Linked DNA regions of Homo sapiens: region 1 is linked to region 2. Evidence: promoter capture Hi-C in 16 types of primary human blood cells and fetal thymus (Javierre and others, 2016). All regions are on one chromosome and are shown on one strand. Each heading gives the region's core, a stretch centred on a gene start or on the middle of the fragment in contact. The rest is flanking DNA. Distances are from core to core; before and after follow the strand shown.

Region 1 (5,310 bases), core at 2,481-4,980, 520 kb before region 2:
AAGCAGAGCAGGTGCCTGTGGCTTCTATCTTGTCCACCCTCCCAGCTGGCATGAGGATGCAATGAGCTTGGAGGAGAAATCTTTGCTCTGTAAAACTATAAAGGGCTGGAAAAGAACTGCAAACCATTCCTTCTTAGGCTGAAAGCTTCTGGAGGACAGCTGCTGGCCCCCTGCCGAGGCCTAACAGAGCACTGACACTCAGGGCTTTCCTGGGGGCAGCTTGGCTGGCAATGGGTAGTGTCCAAGTCTCTACAGCACACAGTGTGCCCCATCCCTGAGGCTGGCAAGGCTGAACCGTAAGGCAAGGGTTGGATCAAAGCAGGAATCGAATCTGGCTGGCACAGGTGTGAATAGTCCCAGACAGACCAGAGCTGATTTCCAGGGCCCTCGATACATTTATTATTATTATTATTATTTTGAGACAGGGTCTTAGCTCTGTTGCCCAGGCTGGAGTGCAGTGGTGCAATCACAGCTCACTGCAGCCTCGACCTCCTGGGCTCAAGCCACCCACCCGCCTCAGCCTCCCAAAGTGCTGGAATCCCAGGTGTGAGCCACTGTGCCTGGCCTATTACTATTATTATTATTTGGCGATGATGGTGGGGACTACTGGGCAGGGAACCAAGAGTCAGGATGCTAGCCCCTGCTTTAGCATGGCCTCCCTGGGAGTCCTTGGACAAGTCCCCTGCCTTTGCTGGGCCTCAGCCTTCCCCTCTGTACAATGGGGGGATGCCTATGATTCTGGGGCCAGGGCAGAAAGTTGGAAATGGGCAGAGCAGGGCCTCAAGTTTTCAGTGCATTTGTGACTTTCAGTTTGGAGACAGGCAGCTCTGGCCTTGGTGGAGATGGCTCTCCCAGCGTCTGTGTTTCAGAAGACGGGCTGGGAGTGAGGACTCTCAGCTGCAGTCTCCCATCCTTCCCCAACATGCCTGAGCCTCCAGGTTCTGCCCCGCCCAGTCAAGCAGGGTTCCCTTCCCCAACCCCCCAGTGAGTTGCTGTATGACCTTGGCTAAGTCACTCTACCTCTCTGGCTTCCATTTGGGGTAACAGAGTCACAAAGGCCTCAGCAAAGGGCAGCCTGTCCTGGCCACCCACTCCCCTCCCTTTGGCCACATATCATCCCTCCTATTGTAGCACCACTGAGCTGGGAGAGCCTTGGGGGATGGTGGAGGCCAAGTGTCCAGTTTCACAGGTGAGGAAACTGAGGCCCTGAAAGGTCTGCCCAGGGCCAGCCATCTCCAGTCCTCATGCCCTCTTTCTCTGCAGCATCGCTCTGTAGTAATAAAGAACACACCCAAATGACAGAGGCCGGCAGCTAGAGCTCCAGCCGACTTCCAAATCCCCAGGCTTCCACATTCCCAGACTTCTTTGAGCCCCTCTGTCCTTGTCTGTGGAACCGGGATAGCAGCAGACTCTGCTCACAGGCAGGGTAAGCCCTGGAGGGAGGAGGAGGGCATGAGAAGCAGTCTGAGGACACCGGTGTCCAGGGTGGCCCTCCTTCTCCCCACTCCCCCCAGGCCCCGTGCAGCGGCCCAGCCTCTCTCTTGCCATCCTTTGGCTTCCTGCCCTCAGTTTCCCCCTCGTGCCTCCCTGGCCCGTGCTGCCTCTTGCTAGGCCTCTAGGGCAACCAGGAGAACCCCACAGAAGAGGCAGCAGTGATGGCAGGTGGTGGGCACCGAAGCCCAAGCCCCTCAACCGTCCTCAGAGCATTTGATGTCAGAAGGCAGTATTTGTTTCCAAGGCCAGCTGCACTGCTGCTTGGTGTGCCCCTGCTCCTCTGCATGATTCCTACCTGGCGTGGCTGCTGCTGTGGCTTCTTCCGTGGTCATCTATCCTTTCCCCCCTTGCTGGCCTGGCTGCACCCCCTGAACACTGCATTGCCCCTGTTGGCGTGGCTGCTGCAGCCACTGTAGCCCTTATGTGGGCAGAAACGGCAGCGCCTTTGCTGGCATGGCTGGTCTGTGGTCAGATAAGCTGCTCCCCACCCACCCTGGCATGGCCACTGGGAAGCACGCTGTGGTCCACTGATGGCCTCTGCTGCCAGGATCCAGGTCTGAGGCCACAGCTGTCTGCATCAATGGCAGTGCTCGAGGCACTCACTGGACATCTCTAGATGGCGGCTGCTGTTCCTTCAATGGGGGCAGCCCAGCCTCACTTTGAAGTCCATCACTCAAGGGACCCCAGCTCCTCCAAGACCCTGGACCCCCAAGACTCTCTGTGCCCACCTCTTCCCAGAACCTCTCTCTGGCCCTGGTGATCTTTCGACTCCCAAGGATGGAGCTGAGTGGTCCTTTCTTACGGGACTTCAGGGTAGCAGAGAGTGGCAGCAGGACAGGGGACCTTCCTCCCTGCTCCCATAATGCTCCAAGGCCATCACAAATAGCCCGGGATCTCCAATAGCCCGTGGCACAGCTGCCCTGGGAGAGTAGGCTACTCTGAGACCGCCTGTCTCCCCCAAACCCTCATCAGGCAGCAGTTTCAAGGCCTGTGTTCTCCAGGGGGCATCAAAGGGATTTCTGTATAATGACAGAGAAGCTTCTGGAAAATTTTCATGGCCATTGGTGCTCCAGGCTTCTCCCAGCCTCTGGCCACCTTGGTGGTACTTATTCAGTCCACAAACCTTGGGGACCTACTGTGTGCCAGAGACTGTGCTTGCCGTGGGGATGGGGCAATGGGAGGCCAGACCCATCTCTACCCTGGGGACACTCACAGTCTGGGTGAGGACACAGGCGGAAACAGTGATTTAGCTGCCGTGGTAGTGAGTACACAGAGACTCGCTGTGCGTCACCAGGGTACCTGACAGAGACAATCCTGGAAAGTTCCTGGAGGAAGTGACCTTCCAGCCCATCTCTGAGCCTTGGGGAGGATATAGTCAGGCAATTGGGGAAGGGTCAGTGCTTCAGGCAGGGGAAGAGCATGTGCAAAGCCTCTGAACAGAAGGGGCATGCCCTTTATAGCCTTGAGTCCAAATCCTTATTAGTTACGTTTGCCAGGGACAGGTTGGCACAGTGGCTAAAGGCTGGGGCTCTGGCATCACATGGCCTAGGTTTGAATCTCACTTTGCTGCTTACTAACTATGAGACAATGTATAAATTACTTGACCCCCTCCCCATCCTTCAGTTTCTTCATCTGTAAAATGGGAATATTACTTTACACGAATGGTCCTGCTGAATCCCAACAACACTTCGCAAAGCTGTTGGGATTCAATGGGACCATTCATGTAAAGCACTTAGCACACAATAAATGCTCAATAAATCTTACCACGAATCTCACCTACTGAGCATCTGTGTGTGTTCCGCAGTTTATCTTCACACAGATCTGTGAAGCTTGGACCCACTGCTCCATTTCATAGATAAGAAGACTGAGGGTTAGAGGACTGAATAAGGTGGAGATCGACTGAGGTTTTGGAGGAATCAGGGAGGCTTCTTGGAGGAGGTGGTGGCTGAGCTGGGTGTTGAGAATGGCCACCCCTGCCCCACCCACCAGTCAGGAAGGCTCACTCTAAGCAGAGTATTTCAGCTTCAGGGGCTCCACTGGTCCCGGGCTCCCTGGGTCTGGGGATGGAACAAAAGGGCTGCCCTGGGCACTCCCAAGGCCTCCCAGGAGTCTCAGCAGGGAAGGCCCCATCGGGCCAGGTTCTCAGGCTACAGAGCCTCCAGCGAGCATCAAACAACAAAAAGGCTTTTCTCACTCTGGATGAGTCACCAGAGCGAGCAGACGCCCCGTCCCTGTGCTGAAGAAGATGAAACCACACATCTGAAGAAGTTTCCCACGCCACCACTTGCTTTAAATAGCTGCAGAGAGAAGTGGAGGAGGGAGGGAAGGGGAGAGGGGGTAGGGAAGCAGGGCTGTCCGCACCAGGACCTGGCTGGGGTCTCCCCCATACCCCAGGACCCTGACACGCACCCCTTGAAGCAGGTTGTTGATGAGAACTCAGGCCCCATGGGTGCCAGGGGAGCCCAGCAGAGGCCCAGAGCCCACGGTGGGCCAGGGCACAGCAGACAGATAGGCAGACAGCAGGAGACACATCCAGCTGGGCCGTGGGGTGCACACCCCTGTGTCAGGGTGCAGGCCCAGGAAGGGGGAAGTTGACCTCACTGTGCACCCCGGTGCAGCCTCTAGGCCCCCAGCCAAGCTTCCTCGCAGGTCACCTGACACCCCTGAGTGCTCTGGCTGTGCCCCCCTGCCTGGCTAGGTTCGTGACTGAGCCCTGGGCGGCATTTCCGGAGGCAGGCCGGGAGCTGGGGCTGCTTACGCACTTGCTGTCCCCCCCCGCCTCCAGCAGGGCCGGGTGAGAAGAGAGCCCCCCATCCCCCCCTTCCCGTAAATGAGCTCACCCCCACCCCAGGGCCTCACAGGGATTCTAAGAAGTGGAAGCCAGGCACCTGCTCCTCGCCCACAGCAGGGGGTGGGGGTGGGGTAGGAGGGGGAGGGGCAAGGGAGAGGCCAGGGGTCCTCATAACCCCTCAGCTCAGCCCTCAGGCCTAGGCCAGGGTTCAGGGGCGGCCCCAGGGGTTGGTAAATATTCTTTCCCTTAGGTGTGGAAGAATGCCCTCTCTGTTGTCCATGCGAGAGCAGTGCAGTTCAGGATGCCTCCATGGCCCGGGCCCATTTTTCAGAAGGCAAACTAAGGGAATCCCAGAGATGCCTTGGAGGCCAGTCTGGTTCCCTCCCACGCTGGGAGTAAGATCACCTCCTGGATGTTCGGGCAGCCCTTGGTGACCATCAGTGGCTCACTAAATATCTGCCTTTGGAGACCCTCTAAGCCAAGGCCCAGAGAGGGCAGTGATTTGTCCAAGGTCACACAGCAGGCCGGGGGAGGTCCAGGCATACCTCTAGGTGAGTCCATACCCTGCCCAACCCACCAGTACTGCCAGCAAACATTCATTTGGCATCTACTGGATCCTTTGCAGGGACATGGGATTAAATAAGACAGCATCCCACCGACGGGGTCCAAAAAATAATCATGAGCAGTCGCCAGAACCTGGGCCAGGGGATCTCAGTGCTGCCTTCTCATCCAGGTCTCGAGGCTTTGAAAAAATACAGATTCCAGGGCTCCAGCCCTGAGATTAGGATTCAGCAGACTGGGAAGGAGCCCAGGAACCTGCATTTTATAAAGTTCCTCTAGTTGATCTGATGGATTGAGAAGCTTGGAACAGACTGTAAGCAAATTGAGGGCAGGGGCTGCCCCGAAGGAGGGGAGGGGTTTTCCAAGGGCTTCCAGTGAGAGACACACACCCCAGCCTTCCCCTCCCACACCAACCTCTGCCTGTACACAGGGCCCAGCCCAAAGAGGCTTCCAGGAACGAGGCA
Region 2 (5,923 bases), core at 562-3,061:
TTTTTCATGCTTTAAGTCCTTCAACCAACAACTCTAACACCATATAAAATCTGCTCTTGTCTGTTACCTAATGTTCACATGTTTGAAACCTTTACAAACGTTATATTTCAACAGCAGGAAAAATCTTGTTTCCTAGAAAAGCACTGAAATCTGTTTTCAGGCTAAGAGAGAAAAGGTTTGGCTGGGTGCGGTGGCTCATGCCTGTAATCTCAGCACTTTGGGAGGCAGAGGTGGGCGGATGGCTTGAGCCCAGGAGTTCAAGAACAGCCTGGGCAACATAGTGACACCCAATCTCTACAAAAAATTAGCCGGCATCTGTAGTCCCAGCTACTCAGGACGCTGAGAGGTGGGAGGATCGCTTGATCCTGGGAAGTTGAGGCTGCAGTGAGCTGTGTTTGCACCACTGCACTTCAGCTGGATGACAGAGCGAGGCCTTGTCTCAAAAAGAAGAAAAGAGAAGAGAAGAGAAAAGAAAAGGCAAGGCTTGCCAATGCAGTAAAATGTAAAGCTGATGACCTGGCTAAAGAAGAGACTCAGTTTTCAAGCTTTTCACAGTCTTCCTGGATGGAAAGCCCATTTCTAGATCAATTTAAATCCCCACCAAAAAGAACACATTTGTGTGATGCATATCTGGCTCCTGAATTATGTGTTTACAGAGTTTAAGATATTGAACCAAAGCCAATGAAATAGTCTTAAAACAAATTACTTTACATCGTATGTAATCACAGCTACAGATAAATCAATTGCTTCTTTTGCCAAATAGTACATCAGAGACTTCTATGAAAAGTTCAAATAAATGTGGTGTACTTGGTGGCTTCCAACAAGTGGAAGCGAATATTTTTGGCTTTCAGCACTACAGGAAAACATCACTTTAAATAATCCTTGTTTGTATCTGAAACACGGATCTGGATTGCTTCCTACACTAGAATCCTAATCTCTAAAGGAGATGATCAGATTTTGCACGGAAGCTAGAAGAATCAACCTGGAACAGATCACTCCTGCCCTACCTGTCCAGGCGGCGGACAGAAGCAGACAGACAAGTTTCAAGAAGTTAGGGAGTCACTAATGCGATGGTGATCCACGCACCGTGGGGGAAGCGGGGCAAGGGAGAAAGACAGGGGGCTTCCACCTTCCAGGCGCCCCTACACCGCTCCTGCCTTCACAGGCAGGCTGGGCCTGTCGGCTTTTCAAAAGGTCAAACACACTTGGTGGGAGAAAATCGTTGGTGGAGAAGACAAAACATTTTTGTTTTGTTTTCCGGGACACCACCCTCGAGGCTGCCAGACTAGACCCCGCGCGCGAGAAGGGTGCGGCGGGAGGCGAGGTCGCGGGAGGCGAGGTCGCGCGCGGTAGCATCTCCCGGTCCCGCGGCTCGGAGTGCCCACCCCTCCCGGACTTCTCGGGGCGGCTTTTTTTTTTTTTTTTTTTTTTTTAACTTTTCATGCACCACCCCCCCCACCCGCCCCGCCCCGCCCCGCCCCGCGCTGGGTGCAAACCTGCTGGAGAGGCCGGGCGCCGTGGGGCCTCACCTGCACGCCCCGCCGCCGCAGGACGGGAGCCGGGAGGGCAGCGGACGGGCCCGGGCTGCCCGACGGGGCTGCGGGGAGCCGGACGGCGCGAGCTGCGGGGCCTCTGGGAGCCTGGTGGGCGGCGGGCGGGGCCGAAGGCAGAGCCGGGAGCCGCCTGCAGCAGCAGCCTCGCCGCCACGCCCTCGACGCCGGCGAGAGCGGCCCCCTGGGCTGGGACTAGGGCGGTGTCCCGGCTGAGCTAGGCTGCCGGCGCCGCGCGCCCGCCTCGTCCCCTCCTGTTCTGGCAGGGCGCGCGCACGGCGGCGCAGGCGCCAGAGCCCAGGACAAGGCGGGGACCCGGGCGGGGACCGGGGCGGGGGCGCGCGGGGGCCGGGGTGGGGGTGTCTCGCCGCGCGCGCCCTCCTCCCGCTCCTCCGGGTTCCTGGTCCCCAGCCTGTGGGGGGCTTGGGCTGTAGCGCTGGGGCGGGGGCTTTAGATCACCCCGAAAACAGGACCTCTGGCGACCTTCTCGTTTTCCACCGGGAGCGGAGAGAGCCGATCTCCTTTTCCTGCTAGCCCCGTAGGACAGTCCCCGGAGCAGCTCATAGGAATATGACGAACGTTTACTCAGGGCTGGTTACTATGTACACTGCGCCCCGCGCGCGGCGAGTTTACCTCGGTTCACCTCCCGGCAACCGGCGGCCCGGATATTATCAGATGCTGTGGGCTTCCCGGCGCCTCATTGCCCGAGGAGAGGCGGCCGCAGGTAGCTGAGCTGGAGCTAGCACAAGGTGTGGGACGGCACAGGCTGGGTCCCGCCCTGGCGGGTACAACCCTCTTCCCCTTACCCACTCCTTCCCCTCCCCTCCCATCCCCTCCCCTCCTCTCCTCCCCACTCGTGCTCTTCTCCCTCCTCCCGCTCTCCCTCCTCCTCTTACTCCTCTTCACCCTATGCCCTATCTACCGTTGTCATACAATCCACATGTTTAATGCTTTCTTTTTCGTGTAAAAACCCTTCCACGCAGTCTTGCTTGTCTCCGACGCCTTAGGAGACCATGGGACATGATTACAACTATTACGCAAAGGGAAGAGCCGGGGTCTAAGCTGTTGAGCGAGTTTCAGTGATAGGACCGAGGCTTACATTGGCAGGTATTATTACCACCAATAACAACTATGATGACAAAGCTCCTGAGCCCAACTTGGAAGGCAGCTGGTGTCTCTTCCCTTAGCCGGCAGAGAAGGAAGCAGGGTCACACAGCAGGGAAAATAACTGGGCTCATCTCCCACCTACAAGGACGCGCAGTCACGCAGTGGTGCGCACCCGTAGTCCCAGCTAACTCAGGAGGCAGAGGTGGGAGGATCGGTTGAGGCCAGGAGTCTGAGACCAGCCTGGACAGCATAGCAAGACTCCGTCTCAAAAAAAAAAAAAAAAAGGAATGTGCAGTTAGAAGAAAATCAGCTCTCATTACCCACTCAAGACCTTTCAGAGGCAAAGTGAGGCACAGTGAAGCTTAACATCAAAGGCACTCAGCGCCTGCATCATGGGGCAGGAAGATGGACTAAAATGTGTACAGCACATCTAATCCCTGTTAGATGTAAACTAAGAAATCAGGGTTGGATTATGACCCCAAGGGCTCCCCAGCAGTTGAGCCCAGCATAGTCACCGAGGTATGTCCAGCAGATCGCCCCTCCTACTTCCTGCTTGCTGCTTCTGTGGTTCCTGCTGCCTCCAACCGTGCTGCTCCTGCTCCCCATCTTGTCTTAAACTAAGTTCTTCACTTTCATTCGTTTAACTAATATTGATGGCAAGCTGCTTCTTTTGTCAAGGTCACTCTAAGGACTATAGTAATTATTTTTTCTCTAAATTCCTCTAACACAGCAACTTTTGCAAAAATTGAGGGTTGTTTTTTTTTTTTTTTTTGGTGTTTTTTTGTTTGTTTTGAGATGGGTCTGCTCTGTTGCCTAGGTTGGAGTGCAGTGGCACAATCATAGCCTCAACCATCCAGGCTCAAGTGATCCTCCCATCTCAGCCTCCTGAGTAGTTGGGACTACAGGCACATGCCACCATGCCTGGCTAATTTTTCTACTTTTTGTAGAGACAAGGTTTCACAATGTTGCCCAGGCTGGTCTCAAACTCCTGAACTCAAGCAATCCTCCTGCCTTGGCTTCCCAGAGTGCTGGGATTATAGGCGTGAGCCATTGCACCTGGCCAAAAAATTGAGTTTTCACATCAAATGAGATTGGAAACAGCTGCATTCCATAGCCCTGCCTGGAGATGTCTGATGCACGTTCACACAAAAAAAATGGCCCTGAGAGATCCTAAGTCAAACAACCAGATTAGCTTAATTTAGTTTCCCTGAGGTATTAGGCCCTGTGTGGGTGTTGGGCTTGCAAGGGTAAGGTCCATAGAGATCTGCCACCTGAGGAGCTCACAGATGGGGGAGACAGTGATTGTGATACAGTTGTATTTGTGCACTGAGACATTTGCAAAGTGCTGACAAAGCAGAGGAAGAAGTGAGCAATCCTACATGATGGTTCAGGGAACGGGGTTCGCATTTTCCAGTATTATTCAAGATTCTCTTTTTTTCATGGAATACATCAATCAGACTGGGTTAAGCAGCAAATGGAATGCATTGACTCACATAATAGAAAAGTTTGGGGCTTCAGGCATGGCCGGATTCAGGGGCTTAAACTACGACATTAGGATTAAGTTTTTTCTCTCCATTTTTTTTTTTTTTTTTTGAGACGGAGTCTCGCTCTGTCGCCCAGGCTGGAGTGCAGTGGCGCGATCTCGGCTCACTGCAAGCTCCACCTCCCAGGTTCATGCTATTCTCCTGCTTCAGGCTCCCGAGTAGCTGGGACTACAGGCGCCCGCCACCACGCCCGGCTAATTTTTTGTATTTTTAGTAGAGATGGGGTTTCATCGTGTTAGCCAGGATGGTCTCGATCTCCTGACCTCGTGATCTGCCCACCTCGGCCTCCCAAAGTGCTGGGATTACAGGCGTGAGCCACCGCACCCGGCCTCCATTTCTTGACTCTATTTCCTGTTGACTTTGCGTTCTTAGGCTTCCTTTTCCCCATGAGATGGCAGAATGGCTGCTTACAATTTCAGATCACACCCTTTCCAGCAGAAAGGGAGTTTCTTTTCCCTGATGCTGTCAACAAAAGTCCCAGGACTACATCCCATTGGTCTAACTTGTGTTACCCGTGCATCACTAAACCACTCTCCTGAGAAGGGGCATGGAACATTCTGACAGCTCCTCACAAATCGCGTGGACTGAGATTTGGGGAGAGGTGGCTTCCTGTGCTAGATCATTTCTGTTGGCCCTTCCAGACCTACTCTCCACCCTTTTCCTTCCTGATTTGAACCTCAAGAGGCCAACCTGCATGGACTGCTTCCACAGATCCCTTGTCCTCTGACTTACAGTTGAATTCACCAAATAGAAGACATTGGAAATGAGACCCGAGGGTTGGAGGAGGAGGAAGGTAAGGGTATTATTCCTCTGGCCCCTGCCCTTCTGGGTCGCTGCAGGTTGGCTACATGTATTTATTGAAGCTTCTGTCAACTGGCCTTCTTCACACAGCTACTCTCTCCTAGTTCTAGTAAATTCTCCCTTCTCCACCTCCAGAATTATCCACCCTGGAGGTGATAATGGCTCCCCTCTGTTGCCTGCCACAGTGTATCACACCATCAGCCCTGCTTTTTCCCTCAACCCTGCCCACACATCTGTATGTAACCTTTACTAAACCCCCTTTAGATTAATCATCTGCTGGGATGCTGATGGTTACATTCAACAAAGGAGATTCAAGTCTCTATTACCAAAAGAAAGGGGAATGAATCAAGGGCAGGCAACAGCACTATGGTACTGATATTGGTTTGGAAGAAGTATCACCATAGTGCAGACCACAGATGACTGTGGCTTGGACAGGGTCGTGATGGGGGAAGCAATGAGAAATGGTAGGATTCTGGCTATATCTCAGAGGCAATGTTAACACAGTTTACTGAGGAATTGTATGTAAATCATGAGCAGTAGAGAGGAGCTGAGGGTGGAAGTAGTTGGAAAACATGCATCTGGAGCCTAGGAGTGAGCTCAATGAGTAGTGATTTGGGAGGGAGGCGCGTTAGTTAGTTGAAACCACGGGCTCAGATGAAATGACCCGGGGAGCCCACGTAGAATAGAACACAGAAAGGGCAAAAGGCAGAATCTAGAAGAACAAACACCAGCCTTTCCATGGTGAACAGAGGAAGAGTTGCCATCTTGTATCTATCGTCTAGATCGTGGGCAACTCGATAACTTGAGCGCAAGAACAGAATCTTCCACATCCTTCCTTTTTACCATCGTGTCTAGCGAGGTGATGACCACACGGTGGGTAATCAATGCTTGTTATGAATGAACTTGACAGTTCCACATTTC

The links. The method cuts DNA at HindIII sites, captures the fragments that hold promoters and counts their contacts. A CHiCAGO score of 5 or more calls a contact.
Region 1: a contact is called between a fragment that was not itself captured here and the fragment with the promoter of RCAN3 in region 2, in 1 of 17 cell types (naive CD4 T cells). The highest score is 5.9, in naive CD4 T cells.

The regions. Positions count from the first base shown.
Region 1 is chr1:25,021,419-25,026,728 of GRCh38, reverse strand. It overlaps MIR4425 (microRNA 4425), which reads right to left and starts at 3,226; the gene lies at 3,143-3,226. RefSeq lists enhancers at 924-1,597, 3,599-4,128, 3,028-4,590, 5,069-5,310. The HindIII fragment of the contact is 809 bases long and covers 3,326-4,134 here.
Region 2 is chr1:24,498,724-24,504,646 of GRCh38, reverse strand. It overlaps RCAN3 (RCAN family member 3), which reads right to left and starts at 1,811. Exons shown (of 5, transcript NM_013441.4): 1 at 1,497-1,811. RCAN3AS (RCAN3 antisense RNA) reads left to right here and starts at 2,265. Exons shown (of 2, transcript NR_144360.1): 1 at 2,265-2,299. RefSeq lists silencers at 1,469-1,968, 2,250-2,422 and an enhancer at 3,026-3,125. The HindIII fragment of the contact is 2,473 bases long and covers 548-3,020 here.